Linked DNA regions of Homo sapiens: region 1 is linked to region 2. Evidence: promoter capture Hi-C in 16 types of primary human blood cells and fetal thymus (Javierre and others, 2016). All regions are on one chromosome and are shown on one strand. The core of a region is centred on a gene start or on the middle of the fragment in contact, and the rest is flanking DNA. Distances in the headings are between cores, read along the strand shown. Region 1 holds the start of MED13 (mediator complex subunit 13). Region 2 holds the start of USP32 (ubiquitin specific peptidase 32).

The links. The method cuts DNA at HindIII sites, captures the fragments that hold promoters and counts their contacts. A CHiCAGO score of 5 or more calls a contact.
Region 1: a contact is called between a fragment that was not itself captured here and the fragment with the promoter of USP32 in region 2, in 1 of 17 cell types (fetal thymus). The highest score is 5.7, in fetal thymus.

What each region holds. Positions count from the first base shown.
Region 1 is chr17:62,064,834-62,067,533 of GRCh38, forward strand. MED13 (mediator complex subunit 13) reads right to left here and starts at 445. Exons shown (of 30, transcript NM_005121.3): 1 at 307-445. The coding sequence starts at 372. RefSeq lists silencers at 86-365, 1,156-1,235 and an enhancer at 846-1,105. The HindIII fragment of the contact is 415 bases long and covers 1,221-1,635 here.
Region 2 is chr17:60,390,567-60,393,415 of GRCh38, forward strand. It overlaps USP32 (ubiquitin specific peptidase 32), which reads right to left and starts at 1,567. Exons shown (of 34, transcript NM_032582.4): 1 at 1,316-1,567. The coding sequence starts at 1,373. RefSeq lists an enhancer at 1,282-2,123 and silencers at 1,298-1,357, 1,388-1,607, 1,718-2,037. The HindIII fragment of the contact is 3,969 bases long and covers 1-2,849 here.

The sequences.
Region 1 (2,700 bases), core at 178-2,677, 1.7 Mb after region 2:
AAGACAAGAGGGAAAGGTTACTGTCCTGCCAGATAAGGAGCTCAAGTTGAGGACGAGACTACGGTGAGAAGGAGAGTCCGAAACAAGACGAGAAAAAATGCCAACACTCCCCTAAACAGAGCCCGGGACCGTAGGAGAGCGAACGCCGCCTCCCGGGGCTGGCCGCGGAGCTTCGCAGGGCGCCGGCTCCGGCTGGGCCTCGCCCGGGAACTCGGGCATCTGGACCAGACCCGGCCCCCTCCCCCACGGCCCAAGGGCGCACCTCGCGGCCCCCCTCCCTCGGCGCCCGCCGGCCCCGGCACTCACCAGGCAGAAGAGGTTACAGTGACAATCTTCCAGGCTGGCCCCGTTCGGCACGAAGGAGGCACTCATCGTCCCTCACAGCAGCCGCCGCCGGCGCCACAACCCACCATCCGCCATTACCGCCGCCTCCGACCAGAGAGAGAAACACAGACACCGGGGAGGGCCGGGGGGGGGGTAGTGGTTGGGGGGGCGGTGGAAGAGGAGGCCGCCGGGCGCCCGCCCTCCCCACCCACCCCCCCGCCGCCGCCGCCGCCGCCGCCGCCGCGAGCAGCCCCCGCCGCCCGGCCGGCACCCAGCCGCCCGGGGCCGAGGGCCGGAGGCGGGAGGGCCGCGCCGCGCTCGCCTGGCGGGCCGGACTGCGGATCCCGCAGACGCTCGTCCCTCTCTGGGGGACGGAGGGGATGTGTGCCCCTACCACAAGAAAAATAATAAATTACACAATAAATAATCAAAATCAAGTCCGAGACGGCAGAGCCCAAGCCCAGGACGGTTCTCCCGGGCGGAGAGGCGCCCGCACAGGAGCGGGAAGGGCGAGAACCGGGAGAGAAGCCCAGGCCCCCGGCGCGGCAGCGGCGATGTCCTTAAGCCCAGAGTCTCCTCAGCGGCGGAGGTGGTGGCGGCGTCTGCGGGCTCAGACCATTCTCTGGCTCTGTCTTCGTGTCGTTCCTGGGCCAAGCCGGCCTAAAGTTTGCCCTCCTGTGGCCTCACCGGCTGGACGCCGTAGTCTCCCCCATTTTGTGGGCCCAGCGGGCGGTGTTTTTCCCCCTTTAATCCGAATTCACGGGTTTTCCCTTCGCTTTAATGGCGGCCACAGGGACCAGCTCGCCCTCTCTGCTCACCCATTGGCCGCCTTGAGGTCACGTGGGCCCGGGCTCGGTTGGGAGGGGGAGAGAGAAGTGAGCGAGGGAGGGCCGGGAAGCTTTCGGCGGAGGCGGTGAGCTCGGGGGACGGGGCAGCCAGCTGGTGGCCACTAACATAGCGCCATCTGCTGGGTGCCCCGGCCAGTATAAAACGACCCGGGGCCCTGGCCCTCTCTTTGCGGGGAAATTTACAGTCCAGGAAGGTTCATTTCACAAATCAGTGAGAATTACGTGGAAATCAGTTTGAGTTCTTTGGAAGAGAAAGTATTGGCAAAAATTCCAAGACATTCTCATTTATTTCGCGAGGCCGCTGGGGTGCAGGTGCAAACCTCTGGATTTGGGAGTCAGATGATCTGGATGGGGATAAGACTCCTCAACCTAAAAGTTGTGATATGAAGATATAAATTTAAGAAACAAAATATTGCCCTGTAGTTAATAGACTGGGAATTAGAGCCACACTGCCTGGGTTCCAAGCTTGAGCAAATCACTTCCTGCTCTGTGTCTTTACTCATCTGTAAAATGGGGAAAACATATCCCTTACCCCACAAGCTTATTGTAATGAGTTAATACAAATTAAGCAGGTAGCCCAGTGCCCCGCACAGATAAGCACTGTTAAGAGTTAACTATTATTGTTGTCATCATTACCTCATATAGTTATTGTGACGAGCAGGAGAACTAGTGTATGTAAAGGTCTCACTATTTTTTTGTTGTTTACTTCTGTCTCTCTAGTGCCTAAAAAAAGGTTCCTAGCACACAGTAGGTGCTTGATATTTGTATAGTTACAAATGAATGGGTGGTAAGAAGTAAGAACCAAACAAAAGGTTTATTCTCTTTCCCATAAAACACCCAGTGCTTGGATGGGTTACACTTCAATATGAGTTCAAAACAGTTTCTCTGACGGTTTTAGGATTGCAAGAAAGAAAGAAGAAGAAAAAGATGATTCAGAAGTTAGAAACATCAGTGAGTTAGGACTTACTGTAATTTTATGTATTACAGATACATAATTATGTATTATGTATTACAGATACATAATTGTATCTGTAAAATGAATGGTAGACTCTTCCATGTCACTTCTTCAGCCACGGAATGAAAAGAAGTCCTCATTTATCCACTTGTTCATCTGTGGTGGTGAAGAGCCCAGATCTGAAGCCCAAAGCCTGGAGAAAAAGTTCTGCCCCTCACTAGTTAGTCTTAGATCATATTTGACCTTAGATCAAATTAATTTTGCTTTCTCTCGGTTATTGTAAAATGGGGGTAATAAAAGTACTTTTCTTCTAAAATGACTGGTGAATGAAACAATGTAGATACAGTGCTTGCCACAGTGCTTACTTAATGTTAATTATTAATGTAATTTTAAAAATCATTGAGAACCTGCTGGCTCAATTGAGTGTGTTCCTGCTCTGTGCTAGGCCTAGGATACAAATAGGAATAAGATACCTGCCTGTCCCTCAAGATTCCTGAAGAGAGGCACTAAAGGAAACATTTCCTACAGAATAAGGTAAAATACAATGGGGGTAATTGCTTGAATAAAGTATGT
Region 2 (2,849 bases), core at 317-2,816:
ATCTGTGTTATTCTGGTAAATCCACCACCACCAATACATCTCAATTCTGTATCTTACTGTCAGGTGATGGTCAACTGAACTTACCCACTTACCCCTCTTCTTCCTATATACGAACAAGAGTTCACTTCTCAAGCCTCATTTTGAATACCCGTCTTTTAATCTAATTACCATTTTATATCCTTAGCTACTAAAACCACCTGGAGCATGGCTGATTTCTTGACTTGGAAACCTGTTAACAATAATGCCTAGCTCCTAATCTTCTTAATGTTTTTTCACTTCTTACCAAGAATATCCATTAAATGTCTAAAAGAAATACAAGCATACACAGATCTACACACACTGAAATCCCAGTCATGAAAAATTAAGACATTCCGGCCATAAACTGTGCAACAAGACACTTCCAGTTAGTGTGTGCTTTAGTGATCATGGACAGCGGTATCAGAGTGAGTGGTAGGGGGTTGGGGCTGCCAACAATATACTGTGCCTCAGAGCCAATAAGCAGCAGGCCGGGACTGGCAGCCAGGCCAGTCTCTAAAGGGAGATTTAACACAATATCTGAATGCTGGACTTCCCAATGCCATTTCATGGAGAGGGATGGAGCGAGAACTGGGCATCAAGTGCAGTCAAAGGCTTTGGTCAACGTCGGAGGAGATGAAACCTAAGACAAGGTCTGGTGCCAACGCCAGCTGTCCAGTCTCATCTCACCTCAAACACAACTTCATTTCAGATCGTTCTTATCAAAGTCAGCCGCTCAAACGGTGAAGGGTGGCAGAAGCGGATGGCCACAGCCCTCAAGAGACAGGCATAGGCTCTGGGAAAAGGCAGGGACTCCCCAGATACGAAGGGGCTTCCAGTAGCAGAGAGGAGCGCTTTGCAGCCGCCTCCTCGTCCCCTTCCAGCTAAGGCTGTTAGGAACGAGGTTAGGATGTTATTTGAGGTTTTTATGAAGGAATGATAGGAGAAAATGGCAATGAAGGATGAGGGGGGCTGGATGGGCTGGAGCCGCCCAAGAAAACGGGGAGAGGACTTCCCTGGACACATCCAGGATCACAACGCCACCAGCGAGCACGGGCACTGCCCTGCCAGCGCCGATCCCCCTCTCTCAGGACAAGCCCCTTTCCAAACGGCCCTAATTCCCAAACGCTGCTTCCCACCCGACCTCTCTCCTCCACCACACTCCCCAAGGCCGGCCGCCTTTCCCTTCCGCCTCAGGCGCCCCACGCCCTCAATCTCCCCTCTCCCTCCCGGTTACCCACCCTCCAGGCTGCCCGTCGCGGGCCTCCCAGGCAGCTCGCCCAGACCCCTCCCCCCTCACCTCTCCTCAGCGCCTCCTCGTAGCTGAGGAATCCGATCCGTGACTCCTTGGCACCCATGCTCCCCTCATCCCCTCGGCGGGGGGTCGGAGCCTGATCTCGCCCCCACCCCCCTCCCGCCTTCTCCTCGGCGTCCCTGGGTGACGGTGACGGTGTCGGCGTCCCCCGCCCCCACCTCCCCCCACACTAACAAGTGCGGCTTCTGCCCCGGCGGCTCCTCCCGGTCGCCGCCACCGCCTCCATGCCGGATCACGTGACTCTTCCGCCCCGCCCCCTTCCCCTGCCTCCTACTCCGCCCTTCTCTCTCCTCTCTCTCCTCCCTCTCCTTCCCTCCTCACGCCCTCTTGCCACTTCCGCCCCCTCCCGCCAGCTCCGCCGAGGGTCACGGGACCCGAGGCCAGACACTGTTCCCGGTAACGGCCGCCCAGGGCCGCACGCTCCGCCCCTCCCCAAGCTAACCGCGCGCAGGAGCGCCGGGGAGGGGGACGCATCTCCGCACGTAACGCATCGTCCCATCTTCCCGCCAATCGCAGCCGCGCGCCCCGCCCGGGCGCCTCCGCTGGCGACGGGGGGTGGTGACTTCCGGGGCGCTTGAGGACGACCCCCCCCGCCCCCGCGCCCACATGTTCTGGCGTTCGGCGGGTGGGGTCCGAGCAGCTGACGGTTAGTGTGGCAGTTGCCGGGACCTAACATGGAAGACCGCAGAATCTTAGGGAATGGGGTTCTGAGGGATGCGGCATATGGCTCAGAAGAGAAAGGAGTGGGTAGGCAGGGAGCTCCCAACCTTAGGGACGTCTTTGACTGGGAGGGCGTTGTGAAAGGAAAGGAGAATCTCAAGGCTTTCCTGTGACAAAAGAATGCTCACACCTAGCGGGAGATCCCTGAGGAAAGTGGACCTTGTTAACGAAGTGGATCTGCCTTTTCGGGTCATCTCGCCTGCCCGGCCCACCTTCTCCTCCTGACCATGCCTCTTGTACACATTCTCTGGAAAGCGCTGTGCAAAAGGCTTATCCTCTCTCCCAGAGTTTCTCCCCGAGAAACATGAGGGCTACAAGGCTTAGCGTGGAGTCGTTTTAATCTGTGGTAAAATATACGTAACAAAATGTACCATTTTCACAATTTCTAAGTGAGTTCAGTGGCGTTAAGAACATTGATATTGTTTTGCATCCATTGCCACGTCCCATTTCCCACCGTTTTTCATCTTGCAAAAGGGAAACTCTGTGCCTATTAAACGGTAACTCCCCAATCCCCCTCCCACTGGTCCGTGGCAACCGCTGTCCTACTATCAATTTCACTACTCTTAAGTATTTCCTCTGAGTGGAACTCTGCAGACTTTCTCTTTTGTGACTGGCTTATTTCACTTGGCATCGTGCCTTCCAGGTTCATGGTGTGGCAGCATGTGACTGACTCTCCCACTCCACCTCTCCATTTCCCAAAGAATGAAAAGCAGGGATGTGAACAGGTATTTGTGCCCCCGTGTTTATAGCAGCATTATTCACGAGAGCCAAAAGGTGAACACAACCTATAGGAAACCAT